Linked DNA regions of Homo sapiens: region 2 is linked to region 1. Evidence: promoter capture Hi-C in 16 types of primary human blood cells and fetal thymus (Javierre and others, 2016). All regions are on one chromosome and are shown on one strand. Each heading gives the region's core, a stretch centred on a gene start or on the middle of the fragment in contact. The rest is flanking DNA. Distances are from core to core; before and after follow the strand shown.

What was found. Contacts are between HindIII fragments. The CHiCAGO score rates a contact against its expected background, and 5 or more counts as called.
Region 2: a fragment that was not itself captured here is called in contact with the fragment with the promoter of SHLD1 in region 1 in 6 of 17 cell types (naive CD8 T cells, non-activated CD4 T cells, total CD4 T cells and 3 more); the score reaches 8.3 in naive CD8 T cells.

Annotation. Positions count from the first base shown.
Region 1 is chr20:5,748,838-5,755,504 of GRCh38, forward strand. SHLD1 (shieldin complex subunit 1) reads left to right here and starts at 1,564. Exons shown (of 3, transcript NM_152504.4): 1 at 1,564-1,642. RefSeq lists an enhancer at 1,390-1,439. The HindIII fragment of the contact is 6,647 bases long and covers 1-1,856 here.
Region 2 is chr20:5,710,294-5,717,863 of GRCh38, forward strand. No RefSeq gene overlaps it. Among named protein-coding and RNA genes, the nearest start is that of SHLD1, 36 kb to the right of the region's middle. RefSeq lists a silencer at 4,290-4,584. The HindIII fragment of the contact is 3,710 bases long and covers 462-4,171 here.

The sequences.
Region 1 (6,667 bases), core at 314-2,813:
TCTGCTCAGCTCATTGGAACATTCAATCTTATAGAATGAGATGCTGCCTGATTCTAGAATTGTAAACAAAAGCCAATTAGATCTTTAAGCTAAATCTTAATTTTGTAATTTTGTCTTTAGACAGTCTCTTTTTTGTGGTCCTGCAGTTGTGGCAGTTATGTAGTTATCTGCATGCATCAGAATATTACAATATTTTCATCCTCATCTTTAATTTCTACTTTTCATATTTTTAAAATGTAGACATTCAAGTTTATTTATTTATTTATTAAAACCATTTTGTAGGCCGGGCACGGTGGCTCACGCCTGTAATCCCAGCACTTTGGGAGGCCCAGGCAGGCGGATCACGAGGCCAGGAGATCGAGACCATCCTGGCTAACACGGTGAAACCCCGTCTCTACTAAAAATACAAAAAATTAGCCGGGCGTGGTAGCGGGCGCCTGTAGTCCCAGCTACTTGGGAGGCTGAGGCAGGAGAATGGCGTGAACCCGGGAGGCGGAGCTTGCAGTGAGCCGAGATGGCGCCACCGCACTCCAGCCTGGGCAACAGAGCGAGACTCCGTCTCAAAAAAAAAAAAACAAAACCATTTTGTAGAGACAAGGTCTCCACTGTGTTGCCCAGGTGGGTCTTGAACTCCTTGCCTCAAGTAATCCTCCCATCTTGGCCTCCCAAAGCAGTGGGATTACAGGGGCATGCCACCCCACCCTCTCCAAGACATTGAATTTTATTTATTTTTTTTTTTGAGACGGAGTTTCGCTCTCGTTGCCCAGGCTGGAGTGCAATGGCACGATCTTGGCTCACCACAACCTCCACCTTCTGGGTTCAAGCGATTCTCCTGCCTTAGTCTCCCGGGTAGCTGCGATTACAGGCTGCACCACCACACCCAGCTAATTTTGTATTTTTAGTAGAGACAGGGTTTCTCTGTTGGTAAGGCTGGTCTCGAACTCCCGACCTCAGGTGATCCTCCTGCCTCGGCCTACCAAAGTGCTGGGATTACAGGCGTGAGCCACTGAGCCCAGACGAATTTTTTTTTTTAAAAGGCAAGGTCTAGCTCTGTTGCCCAGGCTGGACTGCAGTGGCAAGAACATGGCCAACTGCAGCCTTGACCTCTCAGGCTCAAGCAATTCTCCCACCTCAGCCCCCCAACTACCTGGGCCTACAGACATGTGCCACCATGCCTCGCTAATTAAAAAAAAATTTTTTTTGTAGAGACAGTGTCTCCCTATGTTGCCCAGGCTGGTCTCAAACTCCTGGCCTCAAGTGATCCGTCTCAGCCTCCCAAAGTGCTGGGACTACAGGCGTAAGCCACCGCTCCCGGCCAACATTTAAATTTTTGAATATTTTTTCTGTTCCCTTAGGGTTTACCAAGCACATTTATCGACAAGCCTCCTCAGGAAATTGCCCAAAATAGCCACATGTGGCAAGCCTCATTGACAGGCCAAAAGCCTCAGTCAACATGGCCGCGACCGGCTTCCATTGCCCTTCACTGCCCGCAGTAAGGATGGCTCCGGTGACTTCCTTCGAACCTCACATTTCCCATAAAAAAGATGGCGCCATTGCTTCCGCGTTCCGGTTGCGGATGGTGAGTGTGTCGGGGGGCTTGGCGGCTTTTCTCCTCAGTTTTCTGGAGTGCTTTGGAGGAGAGGTAAGCGCGGGATGGGATGGGGGGGGGTTGGAGTGGTGGGGGCGGGGGTCACAGCAATGCATCTGATCGTTCTCTCTCAATTAGGAAGTTATGGAGGCTTTCCTAGGCATGTCAGGATTTCCTGCTAGCTCCCCGCCCCTTCCGCCCCAACACACGGTGTCTGCAGCCTGTGCTTTGGGGAATTTTGGGAATTTGTGGATAGTGAGTATGGATAAGCTTCGGTTTTGTTGTTTTTTTTTAAATTTTTTCAGTGACCTGCCACTTCAGGAGGTTCTGCTAAAAAACCAACAAACAAAAAAACAGCTTTCTTGGGAAATTTCTATTCACCTACTAAGTAAAATTTGCCCATTTAAAGCGTAAAAAAAAATCAAGCCTAGCATAGTGGCATTCGCCTGTAGTTCCAGCTGCTCAGGAGACTGAGGTGGGAGAATCGCTTGTGCCCCGGAGTTCCAGGCTGCAGTGAGCCCAGATCGCGCCACTGCACTCCAGCCTGGAAGACAGAGCAAGACAACGTACCCAAAAATAAATAATAAAGGGTAACATTAAGGGTTTTTTTGTTGTTGTTGACAGAATTGTGCATCTATTACTGTGATCTCATTTTAGAATACTTTCATCACTCCAAAGAAAAATCCTGCCTCCAGTAGCAGTCATTCTACATTCACCACGTCCACTCCGCCTCAAGTCCTAGACAATTGCTAGTATACTTTCTGTCTGTATAGCCTTGCCAATTCGCACGTTTGATATAAATGAAATCATACAGTGCAGCTGGCTTCTTTCATTAAGTATAATGTCAATGTTTTTGTGACTAGCTTCTTTCATGACTTTTGTTCTTTTTTTAAACGGAGTCTCATGACTCTCACTCTGTAGCCCAGGCTGGAGTATAGTGGCACGATCTTGGCTCACTGCAACCTCTGCTGCCCAGGTTCAAGCTAGTCTCCTGCCTGAGCCTCCCGAGTAGCTGGGACTACAGGCGCCTGCCACCACGTTCGACTAATTTTTGTATTTTTAGTAGAGACGAGGTTTCACCATCTTGGCCAGGCTGGTCTTGAACTCCTCAGCTCTTGATCAACCTGCCTCAGCCTCTCAAAGTGCTGAGATTACAGGTGTGAGCCACCACGCCCGGCTATCTTCTTATACTATGTATAATATTTTCAAAGCTTGTCTTTGTATCATGTGTCAGACTGTTAGCAAATAAATAAAACTCTGTAAACTATTTTAAAGCGGTTTATTCTGAGCCAGTATGATTGACCATCGCCCAGAGAGAAAACACAAACCCAAAAAGTCTTTAGTAAGTGATCCCGAGGCAGTTGGGTTATAGTTTGTTTTTTTTACATTTTAGGGAGACAGGAGTTAACAGGCAAAGACATAAATCAATACATGGAAGGTATACATTGGTTAGACCCAAAAAGGTGGATATGTCCAAGGGTGGTCTTAGAAGTCTTAGGTGGATTTTAGGGATTCTTTAGCTGACAGTTGCTTGAGAGAGTTAAGCTTTGTCTAAAGACTTGAAGTCAGTAGAAAAGAATGCTTGAACTAAGATAAGGGAGTTGTGTGGTTCAAGGTCCTTGTTACGTAGATGAAGTGTGAGTAGCAGCCTCAGAGAATAGATGGGCTAGGTGCCATGACTAGAGATGGGCTGGGCTCCATGGCTCACACCTGTAATCTCAACGCTTTGTGAGGCCGTGGCAGGCAGATCACTTGAGGTCAGGAGTTCAAGACCAGCCTGGCCAACATGATGAAACACCATCTCTACGAAAAATAAAAAAATTAGCCAGGCACGGTGGCGTGCGCCTGTAATCCCAGCTACTTGGAAGGCTGAGACACAAGAATTGCTTGAACCCAGGAGACAAAGGTTGCAGTGAGCTGAGATCGCACTACTGCACTCTAGCCTGGATGACAGAGTGAGACTCCATCTCAAAAAAAAAAAAAACAAAAAAGAGAGAATAGATGGTAAATGTCTCTTTTTGGAAATTTAGGTGTCAGAATTAATCTTTCCTGGATCTGGGAAAGGCCTAGAAAAGGAAATCCTGGCTGCATTAATGGAGATTCTCTACAGATGCAAATTTCTGTTACAAAAGACAGCTTTGTAGCTTTGTAGGGCCATTTTAAAATATGTCAAAGAAATATATTTTGGGGTTTTTTTTTTTTTTTTTTGAGGCAGAGTCTTTGTTCTGTCACCCAAACTGGAGTGCAGTAGTGCGATCTCGGCTCACTGCAACCTCTGCTTCCCAGGTTCAAGCAGTTCTCCGTCTCAGCTTCTGGAGCAGCTGGGATTACAGGTGTGCACCACCACACCTGACTAATTTTTGTATTTTGTTTGTTTGTTTGTTTTTGAGATGGAGTCTTGCCCTGTCACCTAGGCTGTAGTGCAGTGGCGCAGTCTCAGCTCACTGCAACCTCCACCTCCTGGGTTCAAGCGATTCTCCTGCCTCAGCCTACGGCGTAGCTGGGATTACAGGCACGCATTGCCATGCCTAGCTAATTTTTTGTATTTTCAGTAGAGATGGGGGGGTTTCACCATGTTGGTCAGGCTGGTCTCAAACTCCTGACCTCAAGTGATCCACCCGCCTCTGCCTCCCAAAGTGCTGGGATTACAGGCATGAGCCACCGCACCTGGCCGACATAAAATATTTTTATTTCATTCAGGGTTTGCTATCTGTCATGTGATGCTATACCAGTGTCAGGTTGGAAGATAAGCCACATTATACCAGGTTAATAAAAAAAGAAAATCCCATTTAACAAGATTTTATGGTCTGTAGGATGTATCCTAACCTATGTCTTGCATGGCCTAGGTCTTGTTTATAATTTGGTATCTTTTTTAACAATATATATAAATATAAAACATAGAGACAGGGTCTTGCCGTGTGGCCCAGGCTGGAGTCGAACTCCTGGTCTCAAAGGATCCTCCCACCTCGGCCTTCCAAAGTGATACAGAAGCTAAAAAGAAATTAATTAGGCAGTTAGCGAGGGTTAGGGAGTCCTTGGTAAAGTTTTCCTTTTAATAAAAAGCAGCCCCAAATCATTTCTAACAAAAAACAGCCTGAAAAATCAAGCTGCAAGCGTAGATAAGCAAGCTGGAAGCTTGCATAGGTAAATGCCGGCAGCTGTGCCACTAGAAAAGGGATTTCTGGAAGCCAGGTATATTCAACATAGAGGTTTCCTCTTCCCTTTACTTTGTCGCCACGTGTACAAGCAACATGGCACTGGCCAGGTTAAATCTCTATTTGTATAATAAAAGATTAGGGTGGGATGGCCAGCCTCTTAGCATGCTTTGTTAAAGGCACACCTGGTCCAACCAACCCTCTCTCTGTGCCCTATGTAAATCAGACACTGGCTCCTCAAGCTCATCTATAAAACCAACCTCATCTTGCCCCAAATGGGGGAGATCCGTTCGGAACCCCCCTCCCTCTGCATGGGAGAGCTTTTCTCTTTTGCCTATTAGACTTTCCTCTCTTAAACACACTCCTTGTGTGTTAGCGTCTTTGATTTCCTTGTCATGAGACAGTGAACCTTGGGTATTACCGCAGACAAACGACGCCGCTTCAGAAGTGCTGGGATTACAGGCATGAGCCACCACACCTAGCCATAATTTGGTATCTTATTGCCACAGAGTCTGTTTTGTCAGTCATATGATCTATTTTTTTTTCTTGAGACAGGGTCTTGCTCTGTCACCCAGGCTGGAATGCAGTGGTGTCATCTCAGCTCACTGCAGCCTCAACCTCCTGGGCTCAAGCAATCCTCCCATCTCAGCCTTCTGAGTAGCTAGGACTACAGGCAGGCACCACCATGCCTGGCTAGTTTTTGTATTTTTTGTAGAGTCGGGTTTTCACCATGTTGCGCAGGCTGGTCTTGAACTCCTGGGCTTAAGTGATCTTCCTGCCTCAGCCTCCCAAAGTGCTGGGACTACAGGTGTCAGCCCCTGCACCTGGCCATGATCTCTATTTTTAACATTAATGCTGGTCATTTGTGCCTAAACTCCAAAAAGAGGTGGTTATAACAAGGTATGTCTGACCTCCTTTCCCATTGTTGATGAAAAAAGCCAAACTCTGTAAAATATTTAAAGAGGTTTATTCCGAGCCAAATATGAGTGACCATGGCCCGTAACACAGCATCAGGAGGTCCTGAGAACTTGTGCCCAAGGTAGTTAGATTACAGCTTGGTTTTATACATTTTAGGCCTCAAAATGTATAAATGTTTGGGGAGAGGGTTTCAGGTCATAGGTGAATTCAAACTGATTGGCAATTGGTTGCTTTGCCTGAAGTGTTGAAATCAGCATAAAGAAATGCTTGAGTTGGGCCGGGCGTGGTGGCTCACGCCTGTAATGCCAGCACTTTGGGAGGCCGACGCGGGCGGATCACCTGAGGTCAAAAGTTCAAGACCAGCCTGGCCAACATGGTGAAACCCCATCTCTACTAAAAATACAAAAATTACCTGGGCGTGGTGGCACATGCCTGTAATTCCAGCTACTCGGGAGGCTGAGGCAGGAGAATTGGTTGAACCTGGGAGGTGGAGGTTGCAGTGAGCCGAGATCGTGCCATTGCACTCCAGCCTGGGCAACAGAGCGAGACCCTGTCTCAAAAAAAAAAAAAGAAAAAAGAAGAGAAATGCTTGAGTTAAGGGGGTTTGTGGGAGCCAAGGTTCTTGTTGTATAGATGAAGCCTCTAAGTAACAGGCTTTAGAGAGAATAGGTACTAAATATCTCTTACAAGGCCTTAAAAGAGGCTTCTGGATGAGACCTACTAAGGCAGGGATCCTCAATCCCCGGGCCATGGACCAGCACCAGTCTGGAGGTGAGTGGCAGGCGAACTAGCATTACTCTCTGAGCTCTGCCTCCTGTTACATCAGTGGTGGTATTAGATTCTCATATGAGTGTGAACCCTATTGTGAACTGCACATGCAAGGGATCTAGGTTGTGTGTTCCTCATGAGAATTTAATGCCTGATGATCGGAAGTAGAACAGTTTCATCCCAAAACCGTCCCCCCACCCCCAGTCCATGGAAAAATTGTCTTCCATGAAACTGGTCC
Region 2 (7,570 bases), core at 1,067-3,566, 38 kb before region 1:
ACACCATGGGCCAGGCATGGTGGCTTGCACCTGTAATCTTAGCACTTTGAGAGGCCAAGGTGGGAGGATTGCTTTACGCCAAGAGTTCGAGACCTGCCTGGGCAGTATAGTGAGACCCCCCATCTCTAATAATAATAATAATAATAATAATAATAATAATAATAATAATAAAAATAATAAAAAGTTAAACTACTCTAGGTGCAGATTTTGGGGGCACAAGGATTTGCTGTGCACAAGCTGGGACATAGCTGCCTGTCCTGAAAACGGAGGGGTCTTGTCCACTTTCCCACCATACGCTGTGGTCATCCTTTTGACAGTCCACTCCATTGATGGAACAGATAAATCAGAAGGCCTGCTGGAAGGAAACCAATTGTTCAACTCTGCTTTTGCAAAAGAATTCAAGTCATTTAAGGTTAGCCTTAAAATAGAACACCCCAGTAATGTGATCAACATGGAACAAAAGCTTCAGGAGAGACAGGAGGTCAGAGAGAAAATGATACCTCTGGTCGGCAACCCTGCAGAGACTTCCAGGAATAAGCAGGTAGCAGGCTCAGAAATGCCACTGATATCTGATGTGCCAGCAGTTTCCAAAGACCCTGGATGTTCCTTGATTCTTTACTACTTTTTTGTGTCACCAAACACTGACTCTTACATAAGACAATTTCTGAACAGAAATTGAATATAATCTCATTAATTAGATAGGGGAGATGAATTGCAATGTAAACTTAGTGAAGAATTGGTACCTAGACAAAAGAAGGGAGTGTGAGCTCACCAAGGGTATCCACAGTCAAATTACTTTGTCTGTTGGGGTGGGCTGCTTAATTGGTGTTTTATTCTTTTGTTTATTATTGATGGTTGTGAACAGGGTCTCACTCTTTATCTTTTCTTCTTCCAAGACTTGTGTTAAATATATACTAGACCTTCTCACACTGTCTTCCAGGTCTTCTCTCATTCTGATCTGAATTTATTTTTATTAGTCTTACGTGTCTTTTATCCCCTAATTTACTCATAATGGATATTAAAAGTTGAAACAAGTTAAAGACATGTCCCATACTTCTAGAAATATGCTTAATGTAATCAAACATTGAATTTTCTCCTTGATTTTTAGGTATTCTACCCTTACAGCTACAAAAACACTTCTACTCTTAGAAAAGAAGAAGAATGCCGGGCGTGGTGGCTTACACCTGTAATCCCAGCAATTTGGGAGGCCAAGGCAGGAGGATGGTTTGAGCCCAGGAGTTCAAGACCAGGCTGGGCAACATACCTACTAAGACCTCATCTCTAAAAAATTGCATGGCATGAACCCAGGAGGCGGAGCTTGCAGTGAGCCGAGATCGTGCCATGGCACTCCAGCCTGGGCGACAGAGCAAGACTCCATCTCAAAAAAAAAATAAAAAATTACATGGCCGCGCACAGTGGCTCACACCTGTAATCCCAGCACTTTGGGAGTCCGAGGTGGGTGGATCACGAGGTCAGGAGATCGAGACCATCCTGGCCAACATGGTGAAACCCTGTCTCTACTAAAAATACAAAAATTAGCTGGGCATGGTGGCACGCACCTGTAATCCCAGCTACTTGGTAGGCTGAGGCAGGAGAATCACTTGAACCTGAGAGGCAGAGGTTGCAGTAAGCTAAGATCACGCCACTACACTCCAGCCTGGGCGACAGAGTGAGACTCCATCTCAAAAAATACATACATACATATATACATACATACATGCATGCATAAAATAACTTTGTTGTTGTAAATCTGAAATCCTCTAACCTCTAATCTTCATCATGACATTGAAACAATTGTCTCCCTTTATATTTTAATTCTGTTAAGATTCCATGTGACATTATTATTTTGTTTTTGTTTGTTTGAGATGGAGTTTCACTCTCTTGCCCAGGCTGGAGTGCAACAGTGCGTTCTGGGCTCATTGCAACCTCTGCCTCCCGGGTTCCAGCAATTCTTGTGCCTCAGACTCCCAGATAGCTGGAATTATAGGTACGTGCCACCATGCCCAGCTAATTTTTGTATTTTTAGTAAAGACGGAGTTTCACCATGTTGGCCAATCTGGTCTTGAACTCCTGACCTCAAGTGATCCTTCTGCCTTGGCATCCGAAAGTTCTGGGATTACAGGCATGAGCCACTGCACCCCGCCTATTTTTGTTTTGTATACTGAATGCTTATTTAAAATTACTCACATATATAGCAATTATTTGCTCTTTATTCCTTCTTGCACCTCTGATTTTCATTTTGGATCATTTTCATTCTCCCGAAATAATGCCTGTTAGATTTTCCTTTAATGCATGTTTGCTGGTGGTTGAAGTCTTCTTGTTCAGTTTGTCTAAAATGTTTTTATGTTGCCTTTTACCCCCAACTTGTACTTGTAATTGCCTTTGTTCTGGAAGGATACTTTTGTCGTCAGTAGGATTCTACATTGGCAGTTATTTTCTTTCAGCCAACTGAAGATATAATTCCATTCTCTTCTAGCTCCTGTAAATAAGTCTTTTGAAAGGAATCTCTTTTTCCTGTGAATACTTTAAAATTGTTCTCTTTGGTTTCTGAAGTGTCTTCATAACATATCTAGGCGTTAATTTAAAAAAATTTATACTCTTTGGGATTTGTTAGGCTTCATGAATCTGTGGGTTGATGTCCTTCATTAGTTCCAAGAATTCTTAGGTATATATTTTTTCAAATGTTGCTTCTGCCTCATTCTTTGTCTTTTCTTCTTCTAAGACTCGGGTTAAATATATACTAGACCTTCTTCCATTATCCTCTAGATCTCCTCTCAAGTCTTGTGTGCTTTATGTCTTTTTGTCTTTCCGCGCTATATCCTGGATAGTTTCTTCTGACCTATCTTCTACTTTATGAATTATCCTTTCAGTTGTATCAAATATGTTTATTCCATCTGCTATGGACTGAATTGTGCACCCCTATATTCATATGTTGAAGCCCTAACCCACAATATGACTGTGTTTGGAGACAGGTCCTATATAAGGAGGTAATTAAGATTAACTTCAGTTATAAGGGTGGGTACCTGTTCTGATAGGATTCATGCACTTAAAGCAGAGACACCAGAAAGCTCACTTTCTCTCTCTCTGCCATGCAGAGAGAAGGTGGCTATTTGCAGCCTCATTAGAAACCCTAGCAGAACCTTGATCTTGGACTTTCCAGCCTCTAGAATGGAGTCTCCCTCAGAATTATTGTCTGATAAAATAATTTATGTTTTTAAACCACACAATCAGCTGGGTGCAGTGGCTCATGCCTGTAATCCCAGCACTTTGGGAGGCCAAGGTGAATGGATCACTTGAGTCCAGTAATTTGACACCAGCCTGGACAATATAGCAAAACCTCATCTCTACAAGAAATGACAACAACAACAACAAAATTAGCCGGGAGTGGTGGCACACACCTGTAATACCAGCCACTTGGGAGGCTGAGGCACAAGAATCATTTGAACCTAGGAGGCAGAGGTTGCAGTGAGACACGATCAGGCCACTGCACTCCAGTCTGGGTGACAGAGTGAGACTCAAAAGAAAAAGTAAAATGTTTTTTAAAAATGAAAGAATAGGCATTTAAACTTTTACCCGGGAAATTTCTTTTTCTTTCTTTTTTTCTTTTTCTTTTTCTTTTTTTTTTTTTTTTTTTTTTTTTTTTTTTTTTTTTGAGGCAGGGTCTTGCTCTGCCCCGAGGTTGGAGTGCAGTGATGTGATTATGGCTCCCTGCAGCCTCAACTTCCCAGCCTCAAGTCATCTTCCCACCTCAGCTCCTGAGTAGCTGGAACTACAGGCACATACCACATGCCCAGCTAACTTTTTTATTTTTTGTATAGATGGGTCTTACTATATTGCCCAGGCTGGTCTCGAGTTCTTTGGCCGCAAGAGATCCTCCCACCTCAGCCTCCCAAGGTACTGAGATTACAGGTGTGAGCCACTGTGCCTGGCCAGAACTCTCACTATACAGTCCTATCCATTTACAGCCCTTTGCCTACATGTCCTTAGATCTGTGTTTCCCAGATTTTCCCATAAATTCCCTGCAACCTTCCTTTTGACCTTGAGTGCTCTACACAGTCATCCCATTTCTAGTTCATCTATAGGAATAGTGGAGTTGACAGCAAATAATGTTTTTCAACTGCTTGAATATTAGAGTCCTTCTCCCTTGTACAGCAATATATGTCTATGATGAAGCTTAGTAAAATAGCTGTAGAACGAATTCGGAGATAAAATTACAGGAACTCTATAACAGCACATGTGGCTTTTCTCTGTCTCTGAATCTACCTCTTCTGGAAATGAACAGGAGTAACTTAGGTGAGCTCACAAACATAGCTACTACCATGCAGTATGTACCCTTACACCACCCCTGCCCCCACTCCCACTGTAGTTTCCTGGGCTTTAGTCTGTTCTAAGTTCTTTGATGCTTGTGAAGCTACTTCTGCTGACTTTGTTGACACTGACATTGTTACCATGGTTACCAGGGAAGTCAGACAATATACTGAAGGGGAGTTGCTTCCTGCCCTAACCAGGACAAAGACACTATAACCTTTGAGGTTGCTGGTGTATCCGTGTCCTCAGTGAAGAATTCATGTATGAGCTGAGGTTGCCAAAGAAGCAGGGAAGCTTTCTTCCCCCTCCTTTGCCTCACACTCTGTTACACTGAGTTAGAAGACATTTACCTGTGAAAACCACAATGACACACTGTTCTACCTAAGAGGCTGGCAAGATCAAAATGACTGATAAACTGTATCAGAAAGGGCGTGGAAAAACAGATATTGTTGGTGGAATGTAAATGGACATAATCTCTTTAGGAGAACAATTTGGGCATCCATACCGTTTGATGGAGCAACTTTATCCCTAATTTATAGCGCAACGTGTGCAAAACAAGCACATGGATAGAATAGTCAATGTGGCAGCATCTGTAAGTCGAAGATTAGAAACAATGGGACAGCACACTCAGTGTGGCCTTTCCATGTGCCATTGGCTCCACTCCCAGTTCACCTGCAGCCAGGGAGGAAGGTTCTGTATGTGCTGACAAGGCTCCCCACCTCAAGCCACCTGCAGCACCCTCAAGGGAAATCTTCAACCAGTGATAATGAAAGATGACGCATGTCTTAGTCTACTCAGGCTGCCATAACAAAATACTAAACACTATGTGGCTTAAACAACACAATTTTATTTGCTCACAGTTCTTGATTCTAGAAGTCCAAGATCAAGATTCTGGCTGATCTGGTTTCTGATGAAGGCTTTCTTCCTGGCTTGCAGGAAAGGCCATGTGAGGAGGTCTTAGTGAGAAGGCCTTAGTGCATGCACATGGGAAGAGAGAGCAAGCTGTCCAGTGTCTTTTCTCATAAGGGCACTAATCCTATCAGATCAGGGCCCCACCCTTATGATCTCAGATAACCTTATGCTTGACCCTTGAACAACACAGGGGCTAGGGACATCAACCCCTCACACAGTTGAAAACTCACATATAACTTTTGATTCCTCAAAAACTTAACTACCTCAAGGAATTAGGACATGGAAAAATAAAACTAACTACTAATAGACCATTGTTTGTTGACCAGAAGCCTTATAGATGGCCTTACAGATAACATAAACAGTTGGTGTGTGTTATATGTATTATATACTGTATTCTTACAATAAAGTAAGCTAGATAAAGAAAACCATAAAGAAGAGAAAGTATATTTACTATTCATTAAGTGGAAGCAGATCATCATAAAGGTCTTCATTCTTGTCTGAGTGTTGAGTAGGCTGAGGAGGTGGAGGAGGAAGAGGAGGGATTGGTCTTGCTGTCTCAGGGGTTGCGGAGGTGAAGGAGGTAGAAGGGGAAGCAGGAGAGGCACACATGGTGTTAATTTTTATTGGAAACATTCCACATATAACGGGACCCAAGTAATTCAAACCAGTGTTGTTCAAGGGCCAACTGTAATTACAAAAGGTCTAATCTCTAAATATTAATACATCCTCACTGGGGTTTAGGTTCCTAATATATACATTTAGTTGGGGGATACATAGACATTCAGTTTATAACTGCATGTAAATACCACAGCTTTCCAGTCTTTTGGTGTGATGTTTCTGAGGCTTCTTCTACCCATTCTCTCAGAGGGGCCCCATTGAGCTAGGGCTGTCCTAAGTGGGGACTTATTTATTAATCTACCCTTTTGTGAGTCTCCTCCCTTCCCTCTCACTGGGCTTCCTGGGATCTCCTTCCAAATAAATGACCTGTACCCAAGTCCTTGTCTAAGGGTCTTTTTTTTTTGGGAGAATGGGACAAATGTTTCAAATCACCAGTCATTTGAATCTAAAGTTATTCCTACAAGAGCTGCTATGGTCTGAATGTTTGTGTTGCTCCCTGCTCTCCCAGTTTCCGTGTTGAAATTGAATCACCAATATGATGCTATTAGGAAGTAGAGCATTTGGGAGGTGAGTAGATCATGAGAGTAGAACCCTCATGAATAGGATTAGATCTTTTATTTTTATTTTTATTTTCAGACAGGGTCTCACACTGCCACCCAGCAGGCTGGAGCACACTGGCGTGATCTCAGCTCACTGCAACTTCCGCCTCCTGGGCTCAAGCAATCCTCCTGCTTCAGCCTCTTGAGTAGCTGGGTCTACAGGTACACACACCACACCCAGCTAATTTTTGTATTTTTTGTCGAGACAGGGTTTTGCCATGTTGCCCAGGCTGGTCTCAAGCTCCTGAGCTCAAGCAAATCTGCCTGCCTCAGTCTCCCAAAGTGCTGAGATTACAGGCGTGAGCCACCGCGCCTAGCCTGGATCTCTTATAAAAGAGATCTCAGAGAGTTAGCACATCTGTTCCACCATGTGAGGACACAGCTATAAGGTGCCATCTATGAATCAGGGCCTCACCAGACACTGAATCTGCCAGCACCTTGATCTTGGACTTCACAGCCTCTGGAGCTTTGAAAAATAAATATCTGTAGTTTATAAGCTACCCAGATTATTATATGTTGTTATAGCAGCCTAAGCAGACTAAGAAGGTATTCAGTCCTGCAGGTTGTCCCATATTCCTAGTACTGTGGTTGAAATTGTTATATATTGGTTCCTGTCAAACGCCAGCTCATACAGCAGCGTGGGAGAGACTGGAATTGAAGAGACTCTGGAAATTGGTCTGCCCTGAACAGGGAATGAGGCAGGAAACAGGAAGACAGACCCAGTGGCAAGTACCAAGAGCCCAGTCTAGAGGAAAGAAGACCATATCCACCGGGCACATCGGGGCAAAAGCAGGGCTCCCGTCTCCCACCAAACCTAGAAGGTCCTCATAGATGAGTGGAACATCCATCTACTCTTGAAGAAACGAGGCAGAATTTGAAACTTTGAAACACATTCTAACAAATTGTGATTGAAAAGTTAGATTTAGAGAATTACAACCATATCTGTTCTGACTTTTTTTTTTTTTTTTTTTTTTTTTGAGACGGAGTCTCGCTCTGTCACCCAGGCTGGAGTGCAGTGGCGCGATCTCGACTCACTGCAAGCTCCGCCTCCCAGGTTCACGCCATTCTCCTGGCTCAGCCTCCTGAGTAGCTGGGATTACAGGTGCCCGCCACCACGCCCAGCTAATTTTTTG